Regions from separate parts of the Homo sapiens genome. Here region 1 is linked to region 2. Evidence: promoter capture Hi-C in human tissues and cell types (Jung and others, 2019). All regions are on one chromosome and are shown on one strand. The core of a region is centred on a gene start or on the middle of the fragment in contact, and the rest is flanking DNA. Distances in the headings are between cores, read along the strand shown. Region 1 overlaps GAD2 (glutamate decarboxylase 2). Region 2 holds the start of MYO3A (myosin IIIA).

The links. The method cuts DNA at HindIII sites, captures the fragments that hold promoters and counts their contacts. A contact is called where the count stands out against the background at its distance.
Region 1: a fragment that was not itself captured here is called in contact with the fragment with the promoter of MYO3A in region 2 in 1 of the 25 tissues and cell types used here (H1 embryonic stem cells).

What each region holds. Positions count from the first base shown.
Region 1 is chr10:26,262,405-26,267,794 of GRCh38, reverse strand. The region is part of intron 8 of GAD2 (glutamate decarboxylase 2); the gene reads right to left. Among named protein-coding and RNA genes, the nearest start is that of GAD2, 48 kb to the right of the region's middle. The HindIII fragment of the contact is 4,527 bases long and covers 1-4,450 here.
Region 2 is chr10:25,929,979-25,935,524 of GRCh38, reverse strand. MYO3A (myosin IIIA) reads right to left here and starts at 1,296. Exons shown (of 35, transcript NM_017433.5): 1 at 1,197-1,296. It overlaps LOC101929073 (a long non-coding RNA gene), which reads left to right and starts at 1,815. Exons shown (of 4, transcript NR_120650.1): 1 at 1,815-1,971; 2 at 3,164-3,217. The HindIII fragment of the contact is 12,658 bases long and covers 1-5,546 here.

The sequences.
Region 1 (5,390 bases), core at 938-3,437, 330 kb before region 2:
TATTTTTGACCCTTTTTTTTTTTCAGGCCAATAAAGGAGGCGTGACAAAATAATTGGAATATAAAGCAGACATGAAACCTCAAAGCATTGGGAATCACTGATTTAAGTGAAGCTGTTTCCCAAAGAAAGACAATTACCTGGGCAATGGTAATGGACAAGTTACCAGTGATTAGTTTGTCAGGCTGGAATGGAAAAAGGGGCATTACAGTTACATTTGATGCAAAGACTATGGACTTAGATTAGGGCAGCCTACCTTTGGGGAACTTCTGTGAGACTGAGGGGAGGGAAGGGAGGGTGATGTGGTTGAGGAAAGGACACAGAGAGCTTCTCACTCCTTATAAATCTTCCTACACTTCATAACTTTGCCTGGGGGCATCCCTTAAAGCAGTGATTTTCAACCTGATCAGATCAGGCTGTGCTAAAGCACCTTGCTCCAGCCCTGATATAAATAAAAAGTTCAAATTTCTGAGAAAGTGTGGGTATTATCTTTATCTTTTACATAAAGTTTAAAGCACATTAAAATTGCCATAGTATTTTTGCAGGTAAACAAGAAAACTGAGAGTGAGAACTCTTAGAAATTTTTTTTTGCAAATCTTGAATTTTACCCAACTTTACCAAAAGCTAAACACCTTTGCCTGGGAGAATTTTGGGTAGACTAGCTTGACAATCATTATTTGCTCATCAAATCATATCATACTTAACTTTTTTTAAGTATAAGGCAGTAAGATGGCACTGAGGAGTCAGAGATGAGAGTGCATTCAAATTGGAAGGGGCTCCAAGACATGCCTGATTCTAGTCGAACCTTCTCATTTTTCAAATAAGGCAACAGCCTGAAAGGAGAAGTGACTGCCCAAGATCAAATACTGGTAAAAGTCCAGGGAGTAACTCAAAATATAATCTAAGCTTCCAGAACAAACTCAAAGGTGCCAAACATATAGGAAACCTGTTTGGAAAGGTTTGATTATTTTAAGATAAGATAAATATTTTAAGCTCACATCTGACTTTCATGAACCAGAGGTGTCATACAAACCTGCCGGGAAAACAGTAATGAACATATAGTCTGTTTCTTTCCTGTATCAGCGAACTTTGGGCAGAAGGAGGGAGTAGGCTTGTCAAACCATGAACTCCAAGTGTTCACCTCTGGCAGATTGGAAAGGAATGGGGGTGGCTCTAGTTTTTCCTGGGCACTCTGCCTTCCAAAACTATATTTGTTTTCTCTACTTAGGACCCAGAGCCTGACATATGGCAGGTGGTAGATAAACATTTGTTGGAGGAATATGGCTAGAAGGGAAAGTTTAACCCAAGGCTATTAATATGTTTAACTTAATGTCTGACCAGATAGTGAATATGGACGCCTTGGGGGAGGAAACTTACCATCTTTTTCTCTATCTTAGAATTGGCCGGATTACCTTAGAACGCTGGTTCTTAAAATTTAGTGAGCATAATAATCATTGAAGTCCCGGTTTAAAATACATGGCCCCATTCTTAGGGATTTTGATTGAGTAGGTCAGCATAGGGCCCAGGAATTAATTCATCCCACAAATATTTATTGAGCACTTGCTATGTGCCAAGCAGTGTTGCAGGAACTGGGGTAGCAGGGTAAACAAGACAGCTTCTACTCTCCAGGGTTTCCATGCTATCAAGGGAGACAAATAATAAACTGATAAAAAGACAAATATGCACAAGAATTTGCATGTTCATCAGTCACCCAGGTGATTCTGATGCACGTAGACCTGGGTCCATATGTTAAGAAAAGCTGCTTGGGACATTTTAGCCTGGGAGGTATTTAAATAACTGTGGAACACACTAAGTACTTCTCATATGTGCCATGGTTTGGAGCCTTCAGGGCTGCAGGGCAGTGAGCAGAAGGAGCTCCAGATGTAGCCTTGTCCATCCTCTGACTGCCCATATGTTGCGGGGACAGAGACAATTGGGTGACAACCAACAGATTGTCCTCTGCAGATGAGAAGCTGTTGGATCAGTCCTGGCCTTTCTGCACAAGCATCGCCTGGTGCCTGGGAGGCTTTGGATGGCGACTGTTCCATACTCTTTGTGTGGTCTAAAAGTATGTCTATAACGTAAGCATATATCTTTAATAATTATACATCCAGCCTTTAAGCTTACAGTTAAGTGGCCACTGATGCTTTATAACACTGCTCTCAGTTAGTTGTTAGTGTTTAGGAAGGGACTGCTACTAAAGTCAGGGCCATTGAAACAGACTGCTGCTTTGGACAAGGTGTTTTGCATTGAGATCCTTGGTTAGCAGTAGCCTTTAAGAAGTCGTATGATGCTGGCCATACTCGGTGGCTCGCACCTGTAATCCCAGTAATTTGGGAGGCTGAGGCGGGTGGATCACGAGGTCAAGATATTGAGACCATCCTGGCCAACACGGTGAAACCTCGTCTCTACTAAAGATGCAAAAATTAGCTGGGCATGGTGGTGCACACCTATAGTCCCAGCTACTTCGGGTGGCTGAGGCAGGAGAATTGCTTGAACCCGGGAGGTGGAGGTTGCAGTGAGCCGAGATTGTGCCACTGCATTCCAGCCTGGCGACAGAGTGAGACTCCGTCTAAAAAAAAAAAAAAAAAAGTCGTATGATGCTATAGGATCAGATAACTCCCTTAAGTTGACTGGAAAAATCCCAGGAAGAACAACAGGTAGAATCACCAGCAGGAAACATCTTCTCTTTGTGGGAAGAAGCAAAAAGACACAGAATGTACCTTGGACCATGGTCCCAGTTTCATGCCTAATTCCCCATAGCTCCAAAGGGAAGAACTGATTATCTTACCAAAGAAAGCAGGTTACTGGAGAGTCTGTATTTCTAGGCAGGCTTGCAGATGGTCACATGTAGGGTGCCTGAGTCACTAGTTGACCCCGTTCATTGGCCCTGCTGAAACTAGAGATACTATCAGCCTTTCCTAAGTGAGTAGGGCTTAGCTCTATTCCTAAAAACGTGAGTGCAAAGAAGAAAGTATGCGTACATCCTTCCTGCTAGAAATTGACTAAGTTTACATAATAGCAGCACTATCAGCAGCAACGATAAATGACCAGTTTTAGAAGCAGTAACTGTGCGATCCCTGCTCCTCCTCCCGACCCTACAAGAGAGTTATTTTGCACTTACAGTGCAGATTAGGAAACCGAGGTTCAGAGAGGCAGTTGACTATGGTTAAAAGCTTGAAATCTGGGCCGGGCATGGTGGCTCCACGCCTGTTATCCCAGCACTTTGGGAGGCTGAGGCCGGCAGATCACCAGGTCAGGAGATCGAGACCATCCTGGCTAACACAGTGAAACCCCGTCTCTACTAAAAAAATACAAAAAATCAGCCGGGCGTGGTGGTGGGCACCTGTAGTCCCAGCTACTCTGGAGGCTGAGGCAGGAGAATGGTCTGAACACGAAGGCAGAGCTTGCAGTGAGTAGAGATCGCGCCACTGTCCAGCCTGGGCGACAGAGCGAGACTCTGTCTCAAAAAAAAAAAAAAAAAAGCTTGAAATCTGGAGATGGAATAGTGGGTTCCTGCCACAGATCATATATGCTAACTGTGTGTACTTGAAGTTTAAGTTCTTCTTTTTACTCATTTATAAGATAATAGTATTTGTCTCAGAGGATTTGTATGAGGGTTACATAAGATAGTAAGTATAAACAATATTAAGCAAACTCTGCCTAACATTTGGTAACCACTCAATGTGTGTTTGACAGTCTAACATTGTTACATTGTTATTAGCAGTAGTATTGTTATTGTTGTTATTAGCATTATATGACTTGCAGAATGTCACACAGCTAGCAGGAGGCAGATTTCAAATCTAGAGCTGTCTGATAACAAAACCTAGATTCTTGGCACTGTACAACTACCCCGACTTAACAAAAAAACTTTTCAGGTTGACTTCTAGGATTGTAATGACATATGCAAAATGTCCATGTGGTTTTCTGGAAGCCCCCTGGATTGAGCGGTCCAGTGACCCCAATTACTGCTATCAGCATTGGCTAGTAAATAATAAAAGCACGTAACCTCACCCTAAAACATATTTGAGGATGTTGTTCTACCTAGTGTAGCATTCAAACGCAATAGCAGTAAAAAAAACCTGCTAGTTGTTTGTTTATATTTGCTTTTTAACTAGTCAGTGCTAGGCAAAACTATCCTATCAAGATGGCAAGGAGAGTTAATGGATGCAGGTGAATTTTCAAATTGCACAGACTGCGTAGTGACTACAGAAACTGCATAGACTGACTTGGGGAAAAAATTGTTGAAGATGAATTGCACAGGAGCAGTAAAAATTACCAGAGATTTCTCCTGGGGAAAAGAGCTCCCCGTGTCTTTACATAGCTGATACCAACATGGGTAGCCTGTCTTAGGCCCCTAAGATAAATAAACTAACAAAAGTCAAAACTGACCATTTAAGAAGTACTTGTATTACAAAACCAGGCCCTTTGCAAAGAATTTTACCATAATTATAAATAGTGAACTTCCTATTTGCTATAAATAGTGAATCCAAATACATAGTTGGATTTGGAAAAAGAACTTTAACTATAATGATTAATGATATTTTTCTCTTTTAGGATTTGTTTTCCAATGTGCACAATTGAATCACTTAGCATTATTTTCAGGTTATAAGAGAAGGATATTTTGGGTGATTTTTTGTGTATAATTCTAGTAATATTTATTCTTCCCATTGACTTTCTCCAAAAGCATTTACTTAGCACACATACTATGACTATACAACAATGCAAGTGATGTGCAACTGAGACTCCAATCATGATATGGTAAGGAGATATTTTCTTTTGTATATGAAACCTCCTTACTGCTGCCCTTGAAGGGTAGTATTAGAGCTGACAGGGAGGTATATGTATGGGCAAGAAGGTGTGCTGACCACCTCACATTACTCCTCCTTCTCCCCAAACTACCGTCCCTCTTCCCTAAATGTATCTGTAGAGAGGAAAAAAAAAAAAGGATTATGATAAAAGGTTCAAGTTATCATGTAAGAAAACATGCTTGGCTACTCTAAATAAATAACTTTGGAGTCCAAGAGGAAATCAAGATGGCAGTTACAGAACATTAAAAATTAATGACATGAGAATAAAACAAAAACATGAGAAGCATCCTAAATCATTCTCAGAGGAAAATGTATAGCTCTGAGTGCTTCTGAAATTAAATAACAGAGAATAAAAAGAACTAAATTAATTAATCCAAAAAAGCTAGGGAAACAACAGTGTAAGCAGAAACAAGGAATTTTTTTTTAGTGAATTAGAAAACTAAATAAAAAGTAAACTTAATAAATTCAAAAGATGGGACATTGAAAATATCAACAGATACACAAATATCTGATTAGTCCAATAAATAAAAGAGAGAAAACGTAACATTTGAAATGAAAGAGATGTTATGAATAAAGATATTT
Region 2 (5,546 bases), core at 47-2,546:
GTCTGAATTATAAAAATGCTTAAGAAGGTTTAAGTGCACCTGTACAATTAGTTAATTCACCAAGAAAACTAGAAACAACCAGAAATGAAGATTCTTTTGAGTTTTCAAAAACGCTTAGTGTGTAGGGTTCAGTGGCATTACAACAGTCATTTCAAGGCTTATGGCCAATTTCCATTCTAACAATAATAAAATTTTTTTTCTGGAAGGGGGATAGTAGCAAGGTGCGAGTTAGCAACTACTTGGAGAACAGAACAGAGCTGTTGGTGAGCAGACTTGAAAGGACATCCTTTCCTGGTAGGTTTCTCTATTTCTCAATAATGATCATACTTTTCTTGTCTGCTCTTTCTCCTTAAAATTAAAACTCCTTTACGGATGCATTTGGGGTTGCAGGGAGCCCAGCTCCACCGACCTGCTTGTTCTGAGAAATCACCCGGAACGCAGTTCCCTCAGGGACGGGCCGACCCAGCGCCACCTGTGGGCGGCGCCGCAAAGCCCGCGCGCGCCACAGGTCTCCGAGGCGACACCCGCCAGACTCGGCGCCTCCTCCCTCCAGTCTCCCTGCAGGGCCCCCTCAGTTCTCGCCCCTCGTTACTCTTCGAGGTCCTCCCCTTACGTTTCCTTCCCAAGTTCACCCCTAAAGATCTTCCTTCACCCCTTACGCCACCCTTCCCGTTCCCTCCTCCTGTTTCCACTTCACGTTCACCCCTCCCGTTCCCTCCTCAAGTTCATTCCTCACGTTCCCTCCTCGAGATCCCCCCTCACTATCCCCTCGCGTTCCCTCCTCGGGTTCACCCACAAGATCTTCCCTCAAGTCCACCCCTCAGGTTCACCCTTCCCGTTCCCTCCTCCTGGCTCCCCCTCGAGTTCACCCCCGCCCCCGTTTCCCCCTCAAGTTCATCCCTCTCCTCCCCTCGAGCTCTCCCATCCAGCTCGTTCAAGCCTCACATTCCCCCTCTTGGTTTCCCGCTCTACTTCTCCCCTCGAGTCCCCTCTCTCACCCCAGGCCCCGACAAACACACAGGTCCTCCGGATCTGACCTGGGCGGGCGGGCGGTCGCGGCAGCCTCGCGCTCAGAGAGCCCCGGGCCCGCCCTGCAAGCCCCGGGGTCCAAGGAAGCGGGGCCGTTTCCAGCGCCGCGCGGGCGCCGCTACCCACCGCCGCCCCAAGCCAGTCCCCTGCGCTGTCCCGACACGTACCTGGGCGGGAAGCCGGGCGCCTCCTTATTTCTTTACGGGGGCGCTGGCTACGGGCGCTCCCTCGAGGGGCGGGCAGGGGCAGCCGAGCAGGGGAAGAACTGGGCCGCCTGTAGAGGGCGGGCCGAAGGTCGGCGGGAGGATCTGACCTGGGTCAACCGAGCCGAAGGGGCCCCTTATCCCGGCTCGCGGGGAATATTCTTCCTCTCGCCGCTCTCTCCACTGCCCGCAGGTGGAGGCCGCGCCATCCGCGCCATCCACATCCTCGCAGGGCCCTTGGCTGGCTGCCGAGGGGCTTCCCGGGACTCCGGCCGCGCTTCCTTGGCCCGGAGCCCGGCGAGAAGGGAGTGGGGCCCCTGGATCCTGGAGCCCTCATGGACTGGCCCAGTGCCTGGAGCAAATTCTGCTCCCGGCCCCGCGTAGTATCTTCCTCCCAGGAAATTCCCCACACTACGAGGGTCTCGGACCCGGAAAATGTAATGGGTTTCAGGTCCAAGAGGGATAGTGAGTGGCTAATGAGATCGCTCCCAGGGTCCAGTTCCCTTTTGCAGACTGCTAAGGAGTTTGGGGCTGGGGCTGAAGTTAAAGGCAAGAACTTCTACCCTCGGGAGGCAGCCCGTTAGTCACCAACCCTCTACTTGGTCCTTTGCAATCCTTTCCAGACCTTCTGTGGTCTCCTGTCACACAGGGCTCACCTGGGGGGACCCTGATGGCCAGATTCTCTTGAACAGTCTCTAGGGACATATTGGGTATTGCTATACCTTCATCCATTGAACAGGTGAGAACTACAACCAAAACATCCTTTGATTCTGTTAATTATCTCAATGGGTCTGTCGTTCATGTTATCTAAATGAGAATTATAGAAGAGACCAAAGAGAGGTCATCTAATCCTAATCAATGCATATCTTAAGGAAAAAATGTGATGTTAAAAATCTGTTTCAAAAGGTCATTCAGTATATTCAAGACCCTTCCTCTTAAAGTAGCTTTAAAATTTAGAAATTGGGCCGGGCGCGGTGGCTCACGCCTGTAATCCCAGCACTTTGGGAGGCCGAGGCGGCCGGATCACAAGGTCAGGAGATCGAGACCATCCTGGCTAACACAGTGAAACCCCGTCTCTACTAAAAAATACAAAAAAATTAGCCGGGCATGGTGGCAGGCCCCTGTAGTCCCAGCTACTTGGGAGGCTGAGGCAGGTGAATGGCGTGAACCCAGAAGGCAGAGTTTGCAGTGACGGAGCCGAGATCACGTCACTGCACTCCAGCCTGGGCGATAGAGCGAGACTCCGTCTCGAAAAAAAAAAAAAAAAAAATTAGAAATTGAATAGTGGACTTGTAATAGGGATTATATTGAATCAAAAGCCTAACATATATGAACAGCTTCAAATCAAGAAGTTATCTCATCAAAAACAGATCACAGCAAATATATTATTCAACATAATTATGGCCATTTGGACATACCTGGGAGATTTTAAGAATTAGAGCAACTGAGTGCTCACATGCAAAATAAAGTCACAATCTCAATAGAGACAAACAACACCCAATTAAAATACAATAGAAAAATAGATCCCATTCACAATAGAAGCATGAAAGAACATGAAATAACTAAGAATGATAAAAAATGAGAAATATAGGAGAAAAGTGGGAAAAAATTTAAAAATGCAGGATTGTTGACAGACTATTTATAATTGGAAAGACACTGGAATCCTAAGTTAGAAGACAAGATGTTAAACACATAATTACTACCTCCCAAATTAAGAGACAAATATATTCTAGAATTCATATGAAAACTACAGAAGCTAGAAGAGCTAAGTCCAGTGGTTCTCAGAGTGTGGTCTAGGGGAAATTTGTTGGGGGTCAGGGGGCGGTCTCTGAAACCATTTCGGGAGGTTCACAGGACCAAAATTACTTTAATAATAAGACTTTTTTCCACTCCTTTTTCTCTCCCATTTTTTAAATGAATTTATGATGAAGTTTTCCAGTGGCTCCATAATATGTGATATCACAACAGATTGAATGCAGAAACAGGTAACGTCTTCTGTTATGCCAGACATTAAAGAAATGTGCAAGAATATAAAATAATGCCATTCTTACCATTAAACTTTTTTGGTTTTGGAAAATACAGGTATTTTTCACTTAAAAATATGCTATTCATGTTAACATGTAATGAGCTTAGTAGTGAAATATATTTTTAAAATTTCTCAGTTTTAATTGCTATAACATAAAAGTTCTTTGGAGTCCTCAAAACTTTTTAAGAGTGTAAATAAAGGAAGGTTCTAAGACAAAAAAAATTGAGAACTTTTTTTTTTTTTTTTCTTTGAGACGGAGTCAGTCTCACTCTGTTGCCAGTCTGGAGTGCAGTAACACGATCTCGGCTCACTGCAACCTCCGCCTCCCAGGTTCAAGTGATTCTCCTGTCTCAGCCTCCCGAGTAGCTGAGACTACAGGCACCGCCACCATGCCCAGCTAATTTTTGTATTTTTAGTAGAGACAGGGTTTCACCATGTTGGGCAGGATGGTCTCGATCTCCTGACCTTGTGATCCACCCACCTCAGCCTCCCAAAGTGCTGGGATTACTGGTGTGAGCCACTGCCTCCAGCCCTGAGAACCTTTTGATAAGGCAATGAAAAAAGAAACATGTAATTAAGCTATAATAATGAAAAGAATGGCATTAACACGGAATAGAATAGTGTGTCCAATCCAACCAGCCTAAGACCATCAAGGACAAAACCTGCAGTCCCACAAAGTCAGGTTCATTGACTCAATGTTACAGTAGAGATACTGCAAACTAGAGGAACCATGAAGTGGAGTTTTGATAGGCTCAAAGCAAAGCAGAGCTGGGAGTCAACATGAGGTTTGGGCTGTGACCAAGGGTTCTGTTTCCTTGGATAAATGTGGAATGCTGTCTTGGGAAACTCCTTATCTGAAGCTCTGTACTTGAGTTGTAAATCGGGGCCATGTCTCTGTTGTCAAAGTGAGTTAGATCCTACAAGCAATTATGGGAGGTTTCATTTTTACTGACATAATTTCAAAAATCAAATTTTCTGATAGTCTATGAGCATAGGAAGCAAGATTTTCCAATGAGTTAGAAAGAAGTAGTCACTCAAAAAAGGGGACTGTTGTTGACATTTCACAGCACAGCCTGCCCTTGGAAGAAGCATGGTGTCCTGTTCATCTTACACCTGGCAATATCAACTTTTTTTTTTTTTTTAAGTTTTTGTTTTTCCTTATGTTGCTCAGGCTGGTCTCAAACTCCTGGGTGCAAGAGATCCTCTCATCTCAACCTTCTGAGTATCTGGGACTACGGGTGCGTGCCACAGTCCAGCCTCATTCCAGTTTTAACCGACTCATCTACTTCTTGGCAAAAAGACTCAGAGAAAGCAGAACTGGGCCGAGCAAGGTGGCTCATGCCTGTAATCCCAGCTACTCAGGAGGCTGGGGAGGTGGAGCAATCTCAGTGAGCGAAGATCGCGCTTCTGCACTGGATGACAAAGCGAGACTCCATCTCAAAAAAAAAAAAAAAAAAGAGAGAGAGAGAGAAAAAAAAATGAGTGCACTTGCCAGGAGCAAACTTCCACCTTGTAGACTAATGGCGTCTCATCAGTTAGCCCAGCACAAGTGACCCAGTGATCTGGGAGATCAATTAAGGGAAGAAAGATTGCTCATTCCTGCTTTCTGAGCTTCATAAACCCTACCTTGTGATATTTGTACATGAACTGCAGCCCAATCAAATTAGTTCTCAAATTTAGCCTTATCTCTCTATTCTGCTGATATTGCCTTATTTAGGCCTTCGCCATCCTAGAGTATTCCAGATGTTTCCTAATTTTTCTACTGCCTTGCCCTCTCCACTTTATAATAAGTCAAATCAAATATATTACTCAAGCCCCTTGTAGGAAGACTCCATGCATTTATGATTATGCCTGGGTGGTGACCCTCTCAGGCAAGAAAACAGAGTAAATCGCCTTTAGGTCTAAAAGTTCTCTCTTTTAAAAGTGCAAACTTTCTTTTAGTGCATTATTTCATTTTATATGCATAATGTCCCTCTTTAATGGAAATACCTGTAAGGTAGGTGTCTCTATTTACTAATAAGGAAACTGAAGGGAGGAATCAATGATTTCTCAAAGGCCACCATCTTAGTAATCACCTCTTTATCACACTAAATTCCAAAAGTTACCACCTCTGTAAATGCTCAAATTAGAGTTTGATTCTCACAGAGCTATCAAGGATGAAAACATGATGCTTCAAATGATCTAAACCCCACTGAACTAGCTTCCCAGTGATGGGCCAAGAATGGGCTTCGGCCTTCCTGTGTCCTAAGGACTTTCTTAGGACTTTCTCTCTTTTCTGTATCCACATT